Linked DNA regions of Homo sapiens: all the other regions are linked to region 3. Evidence: promoter capture Hi-C in 16 types of primary human blood cells and fetal thymus (Javierre and others, 2016). All regions are on one chromosome and are shown on one strand. Each heading gives the region's core, a stretch centred on a gene start or on the middle of the fragment in contact. The rest is flanking DNA. Distances are from core to core; before and after follow the strand shown.

What was found. Contacts are between HindIII fragments. The CHiCAGO score rates a contact against its expected background, and 5 or more counts as called.
Region 1: a fragment that was not itself captured here is called in contact with the fragment with the promoter of LDHA in region 3 in 1 of 17 cell types (monocytes); the score reaches 8.4 in monocytes.
Region 2: a contact is called between a fragment that was not itself captured here and the fragment with the promoter of LDHA in region 3, in 1 of 17 cell types (neutrophils). The highest score is 6.5, in neutrophils.

The regions. Positions count from the first base shown.
Region 1 is chr11:16,742,534-16,746,342 of GRCh38, forward strand. C11orf58 (chromosome 11 open reading frame 58) reads left to right here. Exons shown (of 5, transcript NM_014267.6): 2 at 2,068-2,151. Among named protein-coding and RNA genes, the nearest start is that of C11orf58, 5.8 kb to the left of the region's middle. The HindIII fragment of the contact is 3,409 bases long and covers 1-3,324 here.
Region 2 is chr11:20,377,584-20,381,257 of GRCh38, forward strand. The region is part of intron 3 of HTATIP2 (HIV-1 Tat interactive protein 2); the gene reads left to right. Among named protein-coding and RNA genes, the nearest start is that of PRMT3, 8.3 kb to the right of the region's middle. The HindIII fragment of the contact is 276 bases long and covers 2,128-2,403 here.
Region 3 is chr11:18,392,637-18,396,251 of GRCh38, forward strand. It overlaps LDHA (lactate dehydrogenase A), which reads left to right and starts at 1,927. Exons shown (of 8, transcript NM_005566.4): 1 at 1,927-2,000. RefSeq lists enhancers at 1,222-1,886, 1,533-1,622, 1,887-2,552, 1,933-2,022, 3,287-3,615 and a silencer at 2,783-2,832. The HindIII fragment of the contact is 13,104 bases long and covers 1-3,615 here.

The DNA.
Region 1 (3,809 bases), core at 370-2,869, 1.7 Mb before region 3:
AAAAAAGTAGAGATTTGGAACTTAGGGAACCAAAATTATGAGAGCATATAAGCCCTTCCACTAATGAGAATTTAGAAGTGCAAATGGGTCCAGGTTGGTACAAATGCTTTAACTCTCATATGCCCAGGGGAAATAGTGGTTTTTTTAAATATTCTTTTAGTCTTTTACAAATAATTTTTAGAAATAATAATGGGAGATAGTGCAAAACAACTTTATTAGGAATTTTAATGTGAATTTAACAATAGCAAACCGAAATTTATATTCTTTGTTTTCCTGATTTTGATGTACATATAGTCATCCTTCAGTATGCTAAATGTGGGGGATTGGTTCCAGGACCCACCCACCTCTTTGGCAAATCTTGCATACTCAAGTTCTGCAGCCAGCCCTGTGGAACCTGAGAATAGGAAAAATCAGCCTTCCATATACTTGGGATGGATCTGCATTTGGTTGAAAAAAATCCACTTATAAGGGACCCTTGAAGTTCAAACCTGTCTCGGATTTGCATCATCAAAATACAATACTTGAGGAATTTTTGAAACCTATTGCTTACAATTTTGTAATTGTCATCCTTGCTCCATAATTGCAAAACATTTTTATTTTTAGATTATAAACTTAATTAGAATGATAAATTCGGTGAATATTTTTATTTCATTTTCCTTCCAGTCACCTTGTGTACACATCTGCCTTCACCCTTTGTCCATTTGCAACCAAATCAAGTAAATTTTGATGCATAAACATTGTAAAAGATGAGATAAAACACTCACACCTCCTTTTAGAAAATGGGATGATCCTGGCTCTTACTGTGAAATATTGCAAGATGAAGTCCTTCCTGCTGATGGCTCTCCCAGTGAGAGTACATTTCTTGTTTGTCTTTTTTTTCTTTTTCTTGTCAATTCTTGGGTGGGAGAAAAGCCTTCTAATATTTCCTCATCCAAAAACTCATAGTCTGAGATTTTTGCAGTTAATTTTATCATGATTAGTCTAGAATACGACTGCCTTTCATTTTGCATTCACCTTCTTCGTCTAATAATGATTAATGCCTTCTGTCAGTTTTTTCTCTTTGCCATTATGAATGGAAAATGAAAAATTGTGAATTCCCATCGGTGTTCAGTGAAAGCTAAAAGTAGACAACAGGTATGATGTCTTGAAAGATGATGATGAAATACTTTGGACAATACAATGAGAAAACTAATATCTTAAAAACTATTTAGTTATTTTTAGCATAGTTGAGAATAATGAATTATAAATAATGAATTATAAATAATGAACTATTAAAAACTATTAAAAAACAACAGTTTTTACATTTGTTTCAAAATGTAGGGAAAAAATACGCTCACTAGGATTCCATCATATTTCTTAGATTTATAAGAGTTCAGTGGACTCATTTGATAATTGCAAGATAGCATGAGTTTTAGTCTGTTCTTTTAAAAAATAAGTTTTCTCTTTGTTCTTTGGAAGACTTTTAAGAAAGAATAAAAGTAATGACATCTCAATCCTAACAAGTAACTAGAACTGCTAAAAAAAAAAAAAAAAAGGCAACTGAAAAGTTAAAATTTTCTCTCTTAAAAGTTAGCTCACTGATAAAGGCAGAATTTTTAACTTCAACTAACAACTGTGGCTGCCATCTAAGTTCAGAGTACTAGGTGCTCTAGGACCCTACCCTGCGAGGCAGTGGGTCTCAAAGTGTGGTCCCCAGATAAATAGCATCAGCAATCATTTAAGAATTTGTTGAAATTCAAATCCTAGAGCTCCACCCCAGACCCGCTGAATCTCTGGGGCTGTAGCCCTGCAGTCTGTTTTAACAAGCCCTCTAGGTGACGCTGATAGAGGCAAACTTTTGAGACTCAGCTCTGGCTGTAGGAGAACTAAAGGATTCTGCTGTGAGGTAATAGAAAAGGAGTAAATTTGAATGTGATGAATATGCTTAACTTCCTAAGCAAGAAAAATGAACGCTGTTTATAGTTACAACTGACAGGGGAAAAAAACTTGAGAGTTACAGGTAGACTTTAGATTTCGTAATACTTATTTTTATGCAAAAAAAATTTAATCAACCAATTTTTTTTCTAGCTGGGATCTAGCAATTGGGAGGCAGCAGACTTGGGTAATGAAGAGAGAAAACAAAAGTTCTTGAGACTTATGGGTGCAGGAAAGGTAAGCATCAGATGGTGTGCATTTTTACCTTTTCTGTGAAAATATTGCCATTTTTATGTATGCTAAGTAAGAAGGACTGAATATACTTGGATTCCATTTTCCTGTTCTGTGTGATTTCTTTTGGCTTTGGGAAATACATGTGGCCTAACCAAGCACATAAAATTTATATTATTTTTGAGCCACTTCTAGGATTCTCTGTCCGTATAGTTTGAAGACTGTACAGAGAAAAATTTGGTTCAAGGAGGCTGTATAGGAGAAAAGAGATGTCAAAGTTTATGATTTGCCATATGTTGGCCCAGTGGTTTGATAGAATATATTTCTTCTGGGTAGGTTATCTTGTGGGAACCTCTGGCCAAAGTGAAAAGGCTGTCATATTTTATAGCTCCCTCCAGCCCTTGAAGTAGTAACCAGAGGAATATCCTTTATCAAAAACTTAATTTTAAGACTACACTTTCAGAGATTATTTCTATAGTTTGTTACTAGATAGAGAAGTTTCTCTGAATGTGTAGAACACCAGGGGGAAAGAAAACCTTAATTTTAAAAATGTTCAAGATACTTTGAAATGCCTGTCAGTTTGGTTAACGTTAATAGAAGGTACAGTTGACCCTTGAGCAATGTGGGGGTTAGGGGTGCTGGTTCTGCAGGCAGTCAGAAGTTTGCATATAACTTTTGACTCCCCAACAACTTAACTACTAATAGCCTACTGTTGACTGGAAGTCTTACTGATAACATAATTATCAGTTAACACATATTTTGGGTGTTAAATGTATTATATCCTGTATTCTTACAATAAAGAAAAGGAAATGTTATCAAGAAAATTATAAGGAAGAGAAAATAATTGACTCTTCATTAATTGGAAGTGGATTATCATAAAGGTCTTCATCTTCATAGTTTTCATGTTGAGTGGGCTGAAAAGGAGGGATTGTCTTACTGTCTGGGAGTGGCAGAGGCAGAAGTATATTCAAGTATAAGTGGATCCACACAGTTTAATCCTGTGTTCAGGGTCAACTATATAAAACAAGTGCCAGGAAAATATCTATTGTAAAAACCTTTCTTTATCCTAGCAGTTTATACAGGGATCTCTAGATACTTAGTTTTTGTAAGCAAGTAAATTTATTTTCCTAACATTGTCCTAACAGACTTCCTACAAACTAAATTGAAAAGAAATAGGAAAGCTTTTTTTCTCTTTTTTTAAGCACATTAAAATGAAATTCTGCTCTTTGTTTTGTTATGCACATGGGAATACATTCATTCATTTTCCCAACAATTACAGACTACCTACTACTGTGCTGGATCCTGGGTGGTCATATAGATCAATAATACATGTTTGAAGCTATTATGTAATGGAGGAAACCAGATAATAGCAATACAGAATTGTAATTGCTGTGAGAAAGCCATGCACATAGTGCTGTGGAATCACAGAGGGCAGCTAACTCTGGTTTAGCAGTGCAAGAAAGCTTCCCCAAAATAGAATTGATCTGAATCTCAAAGGATGAGAAGGAGTTAGCCAGACTACAACAGTAGGTTTGGGGATAGGAAGAGGTCATGTAAAACACTGAGACCTATTTAAATAAAGCATTTGTATAATATCTCATTAATCGAGATTTCCCAATTTGTAATTTGTCATAGAAAATAGTCTGCAATTTCTCTTGTTTCAT
Region 2 (3,674 bases), core at 1,016-3,515, 2.0 Mb after region 3:
AGCAGCAGAGCCACAGAGGTCATTCAGCCATAGACTTTTCCTATGTGAAGTCCTTTTACAGAAGTTCATCTCCTTTCTGCTTAAATATCTCCAGCACTACAGAGATTACTATCTCGTTAGCCAACTTTTTCTATTTTGGGTCAGATCTACTTGTCCAAAAGTCTTTACCTTGAAGTGAAATTTATTGTTATGTAAATACAAATTGTTATCAGTTCTGCCTTTTAAAATAACAAAAATACGTCCAGTCTTTCTTTTGCATTGTAGTTTTTAAGACATTTGGAGATTATGACCCCCTTAATTGTATGTTTCCCAGGCATAACACCTTTAAATCCTTGCACCATTCTTTATGGGTTCCTGTGTCTAGCTCCTTCATGACTGCATCACTTTGCTAAGGGTGAACTTTGCAGTGATATTATACTGGAACTGCACTGGGAGTACTATTCATGCTCCGAACACTATGTTTTTTTAAAAAAATAGGATATAAGATTGTTACTATTTTACCAAACATCCTTATTATGTTGTTGGCTCATGATCAGCCTGTAATATTAAAAATTTCCAGATTTTTTTCACATGGCTTATAGCTGAGCCATATCTCACCTATCCTAAAATAGTATTTTGAACCAGATGAAGATCAGTGAGCCACCAATGAAATTACATGAAGAATGGAAAAGTTTCCACTTAATTGTCAGAGTTTAGAACAATTCTTAAAAGGAAAAAATCTGTTTTCCTTTTTTTTTAGAGTCAAAGTCTTGCTCTGTCACCCAGGTTGAAGTGCAGTGGTGCGGTCACAGCTCACTACAACCTCAGATTCCTGGGCTCAAACAATCTCCAGCCTCAACCTCCTGAGCAGCTGGGACTACAGGCATGAGGGATCAGGCCCAACTTGTTTTTTAAAACACTGACACATGTGGGTTCTGAGAAAGGTTATCAAATAGGATTTTTGCTCTCATTAGCAAGATCAACATTTATACCTTTTAGGAAAGAAAATATACATAAGATATTTCCTCATTGTTAAAGATAAAGGCGTTACTACTGACTCACTGGGTTATAATAATGATTTAACCAGATTTTTAAAAAAATAGCTAACACTAAATGAGCCAGGCAGTATTCTGAGGGCTTTTATGTGCATTTGCGTGGAAACAGGTACTGTGATATTAAGACCACCAGCTGTTGGCTGGGCACGGTGGCTCACGCCTGTAATTCTAGCACTTTGGGAGGCCGAGGTGGGAAGATCACTTGAGGCTGGGAGTTTGAAACCAGCCTGGGAAACGTGGCAAAACCCTGTCTGTACTAAAAATACAAAAATTAACTGGCACAGTGGTGTATGCCTGTAATCCCAGCTACTCGGGAGGCTGAGGCAGGAGAATTGCATGAACCCGGGAAGCAGAGGCTGCAGTGAGCCAAGATCACATCACTGCACTCCAGCTTGGGGACAGAGTGAGACTCTGTCTCAAAAACAAAACAAAACAAAACAAACAACAACAACAACAACAACAACAAAAACACCAGCTGTTAAGCGGCAAAGCTAGAGCTTGAACCCAGGCTGATTCCAAGGCCTATGCCACTAGCTATTAAGTAATGAATAGCCTTTGTCACTAATACATGCAAAAGGGACCCAGCAGAGATTGGACCGTGACAGAGCCTCAGCAAATATTAAGGCCAATACAACGGAAAGACACTTCTGATTTCACTGCAATTGGCCTGCATTACCTGCAGCCTGGGATTATGAATTAGATTAATAAAGGACAGAAATGACAACCAAATGATCCAACCCAGAATGACGCTGAACAATATATAATTGCTTTTACAATTTGGAAAGATTATCTTTCCAAAATAATCCTTCAACTACTGTGTGTAACATTCCTAGTATTTATTGCCTATTTTCTCAGCCTCCATGTGTGTATGAACTCCCCCGCCCCACCCAATTTTAGAAACTCCTTTATTGTTTAGGAACATTTATTCTACTCAATGAAGTTTCAATTGCATTCATTCATGGTGGGCCAGCTCTGGGGGCTTGGATCAATCATGTGCTTTATGGGCATTCTGCTGGTGCCGTGGGGAGACGTGTCAGGATGTGGAGCCCAGAGTACTGGATGGGCCTCATGTCCTCTGTTCTCAGGGTTTATAAGCTTTGGTTTCCTCATCTATTCAGGGTGAAGGTATACTTTCCAGACATGTGACATTTTATTATTGGGTATCATCCTTGACCTCAAGGAGTTTATAATCTGCTTGTATTGAGGGATCCTCAAAGACACCCCCAAGTTTGGTAATTCACTAGAAGGTTTCATAGGACTCAGCATATAGTCATACTCACAGCTACAACTTATCGCATTGAAAGGATATAGAGCAAAATCAGCAAAGGGAAAAGGTGTGTCGGGTGAAGTCTGGAGGAAAGTAGGTACAAGCTTCCAAGAGGCCTCTCCCCATAGAGCTTGCACAGGATGTGCTTAATGTCTCCAGCGATGAACGTTTTCTGCCAGAGAAACTCATCTGAGCCTAGGAATGCAGGGTTTTTATGGGAGCCAGTTACATAGGCACATTGGCCTAGCCAAATTGCAGCCCTCCAGAAGAAAGGCAAGTTTTCAGCATAAACCACATTGTTTGTACAGACAGTTTAGGCATAGTACATGACCCTTATCAGATAGGGAATGGTGGGAACACACCGAAAATCCAAGGTTGCAAGCACAAGCCAGGGGCCAAACTTGTAACAGGCCTTTCTAAGGATAGCAGTCTCAGCCTGCTATGGTATCTCTTTTATGCACACTGCTAATAGAGACAAAACAAATCTTTTAAAAAGCTAAGAAATGGGCTGGGCGCGGTGGCTCACGCCTGTAATCCCAGCGCTTTGGGAGGCCGAGGCGGGCGGATCACGAGGTCAGGAGATTGAGACCATCCTGGCTAACACGGTGAAACCCCGTCTCTACTAAAAATACAAAAAATTAGCCGGGCGTGATGGCAGGTGCCTGTAGTCCCAGCTGCTCGGGAGGCTGAGGCAGGAGAACGGCATGAACCCGGGAGGCGGAGCTTGCAGTGAGCTGAGATTGCGCCACTGCACTCCAGCCTGGGCGACAGAGTGAGACTCCATCTCAAAAAAAAAAAAAAAAAAAAGCTAAGAAATGTGTGTACACATAAAATCTTGTGTATGACTGTTCATAGCAGCATTATTTATAATGGCCAAAGAGTGGGAACAACCTAGATAGCCATCGACTGATGAATAGATGAATAAAATGTGATATATTCATGCAATAGAATATTATTCAGCTATAAAAAGAAATGATACATACTACAACATGGGTGAACCTTGAAAATATTATGCTAAGTGTGAGGAGACAGTCACAAAAGACCACGAATTATATGATTTCATTTATATGAAATGTCCAGAATAGGCAAATCTATAGAGATAGAAGGTACATTAGTGGTTGACTAGGTCCCCAGAGGGTAGGGTACGAGGAGTGACTGCTAATGATATGGGATTTCTTTTCAGGGTGATGAAATATTTTAAAACTTAGATCGTGATGAAGGTTACAGAGTTCTGTGTATATACTAAAAACCACCTATTAAAAAAAAAAGAATGGCCAAGCGCGGTGGCTCTCGCCTGTAATCCCAGCACTTTGGGAGGCTGAGGCGGGTGGATCACTTGAGGTCAGGAGTTCGAGACCAGCCTGGTCAACATG
Region 3 (3,615 bases), core at 677-3,176:
TTGCAAAGACTGAGAAACCGGAAAACACTGTGGCAATCTGCCCTGCCCTGAGGTACTCTGAAGAATCAGTGGCCCACCCCTAAACTTTCCAGCTGTGTGTTTGAGGTGAGAGCCCCATTTCAGAACCTAGAGTGATCTTAGAATCTAGAGTGATGGGAAAACTGTTAGAACATGCAAGCATGCCCTGCTATTTTTTTTTTTTTTTTGAGACAGGGTCTCACTATGCTGCCCAGGCTAGTCTCGAACTCCTGGCCTCAAGCAGTCCTCCCACCTCAACCACATTGGTGCTGGGATTACAGGCATGAGTCACTGCACCTGGCCCCTTGTGCTATTTTGGAGCTGAGGTTAGAGTTTTCCGTCAAAACCAAGAAACTCAGTTATGGATCTATCTCAAAGCTGCACTGGGCTGCTGCTGTAGGTTCAGGGAGTAAGTAAAGCCATCCACCCCTTTGGGCTGAAAGTTCCAGCCCTCTAATTCCCTAATCATTTGGTCTTTCCCATGACTGGCTCCTTCCTGAGGCTATCTAAGACTCCTCATTCATTAACATTAAGTCAGGGAAAAAGGCTCTTTATAAATAACAAAAGACATTCCTATCAGAAAATTCAGGAAATTTTGGCATACTCAAGGGCTTACCAAATATATTTCATAATATACCCCACAGTGGGGAAGTATTGGTACAAATTAAAGAAGAGATGGAGGAGGGCGGGCTAGGCAATGGAATCAGCAAGAATACAGGCCCAGAGGTAAGTATGATAAGAAAACAAAAAATTGAGCTGGGCACGGTGGCTCACGCCTGTAATCCCAGCTCTTTGTGAGGCCGAGGCGGCCAGATCACTTGAGGCCAGGAGTTTGAGATCAGCCTGACCAACATGGTGAAACCCCGTCTCTACTAAAAATTACAAAAATTAGCCGGGCGTGGTGGCGCCTGGCTGTAATCCCATCTTCTCAGGAGGCTGAGGCAGGAGATTCGCTTGAACCCGGGAGGCGGAGGTTGCAGTGAGCCGAGATCAGCCCACTGCACTCCAGCCTGGGCGACAGAGCGACTCCGTTTCAAAAAAAAAAAAATTAATAATTAAAAAAAAAATCGCAGGGCAAGTGGGCGCGCTTGTAGTCCCAGTCACTTCGGGGAGCCGAGGTGGGAGGATCGCTTGAGCCAGAAGGTCGAGGCTGCAGGAAGCCATGATCACGCCACTGCCCTCCAGCCTGGGTGACAGAGTGAGACCCTGTCTCGAAAAATACCAAAAAACAAATAAACAAACAAAAAACCAAAACCAAAAAAACAAGCCACTGACAGTTCTTGGGTATGGTTGAGACTCGAGATGAGATGCCAGTGGGGTGGGCAGTAGAAAGTGCAGAATAAAATGTACATTTGAACTGAGTCACCCTGCAAGGCCTGAGAGGCCAAGGCTTCACTGTGAGTGGGAGCTGGTAGGCTTAGCAGCAGAGGGAAAAGCAGCGTCGAGTTTTGGAGGTCACTCGACTTAGGTAAGAACAGACTGACTGACTGCTAGGCATTTTCTTCCTTTCGTTCAACAAATATTTGTGGAGTGCCTATTACGTGCCAGAAGCTGTTCTGGACACTGAGAAACAGGGATGAAGAAGAAACAGATCCAAGCCTTCCTGAGAGTAACCTCCCCAGGTTTCATGGATGAGGAAACTGAAGGTCGTCCTGACTCAGGCTCATGGCTCCGACCCCGGCTTCTGTGGTTGGAGGGCAGCACCTTACTTAGACTCCCAGCGCACGTGGAGCAGTCTGCCGGTCGGTTGTCTGGCTGCGCGCGCCACCCGGGCCTCTCCAGTGCCCCGCCTGGCTCGGCATCCACCCCCAGCCCGACTCACACGTGGGTTCCCGCACGTCCGCCGGCCCCCCCCGCTGACGTCAGCATAGCTGTTCCACTTAAGGCCCCTCCCGCGCCCAGCTCAGAGTGCTGCAGCCGCTGCCGCCGATTCCGGATCTCATTGCCACGCGCCCCCGACGACCGCCCGACGTGCATTCCCGGTACGGTAGGGCCCTGCGCGCACGGCGCCAGAGGGATGGGCGGGTAGAGCCAACTGCCTCTGGTTCTGCTGGCCTCCGCTGCTCGCGAAGGGATTCCTGCTCCCGGGAGGTGTAGGAGCCGCTTTCCAGAAGCACAGCCCAGAGACGTCTGGGCGGCGGCCCACACAACGCATGTGTTCGGAGCTCGCCGCGCTCTGCTTTTGCTCTAAGCGGGAACCATGGCTTCTGGCCACGCTGGGGAACCGAGGAGGTGGCCGCACCCAAGCAGGGGTCGAAAGCCCGGGTGGATGCGGAACAAGGATATGATAGGCCTTAAGGGTGGGGGATACCTCTGGGCTCGAAATCGGCGGGCGGTGCAAAACTCGAGGTCCAGTTCTCGGAGCCCATAGAGCCAAAAAAGCCTCAGCTTGTCCGGGGCGGGTTCTTGAAAGACGGAAAGCGGCTGAGTACCACGCGGCTTGCATTTTTCTCTTGGGACGCTCGAGAGGTGGGCTCCGTGAGGGCAGCTGCTGCCTGCAGATTATAGGGAGCCCTTTGCGCATTTATTAAGAAGCTACTGGTGTATCTCGGGCTGCGCTAGGCACGGCGCATGCAAAGATGAAGCAGGCAGCATCCCAGCCCTTCCGCACCTCAGACGGTCAGTTGAGTAGGATCCGCCGGTACCAACTCCTCCTTTTAACAAATAGGGAGACCGAAAGCTAGGAGACAGTCAGGGATCTCTAAGTTCCCAGTGAGTAGGAGGCAGAGGTGAGGTGTAGAACTCGTTTTTGCATGTCTCTCGCCTCTAGACGCACCCTTCCCTCATCCCATGCCCTCCCACCTCCGCCCCTACATTAAAGGTAGCATTGGATCCCGGGGCCGTTCAGTGAAGCTAGCAGGTGTCCGCAGGAACTCCCTTCCCCCTGCCAGGCTAGAAACCTTACAAGGCTGTCTAGAAATAGCAGTGATTTGTAAGGAGAGACCCGGCTCCAGCTTGGTGACTCTGGGCTGACTGCCTGCCTAGAGGTCCTCTCGGATTTTTGCCCTTTGGAGTGGTGTCAAAACTAGACGTGATACTTTGGGGATGCAGCCTGTGATATTTCCTCCAGCGAATGCAGTGCAGGGTTGGATTAACAAGGTGGAAAGAATTCGAGGGTTCCACCAAGTAGCTATTAACTCTAGGGCTGCAGGCCTCAGGCCTTCTGCAGCTATTTCTACACTCCCTGTACTGAAACTATTTCTTCATACTGGGCCTGACAGGCCTTTGCAACAAGGATCACGGCCGAAGCCACACCGTGCGCCTCCCTCCCGGTTGGTTAACAGGCCCTGGTTTCTAGTATTGCGATTTAAAGTCTGGCGCTGGCTGCGCGCCAGACCTGGGAGGCTGCCAGCTAGGCTTCACGTTGCTGGCGTCTGCTTCGGGGCATTCATTAGGTCTGAAGTCTGAATCCCAGCTCCCTCCCTCTCACCCACTGAGCTGCATAGCTCCAGATTGCCTCTGCTTACGGGCGGGGCTTCTCAGCCTTCTGCCTTCTGGCCCGATGCCCGCTTCCCAACGGCCGGAGGCCGCTAGACTAATCGGCTTCGCCCTGCGCGCTGTAATGCGCATGCGCACGCGCACAAGTTCCTGGGCCCG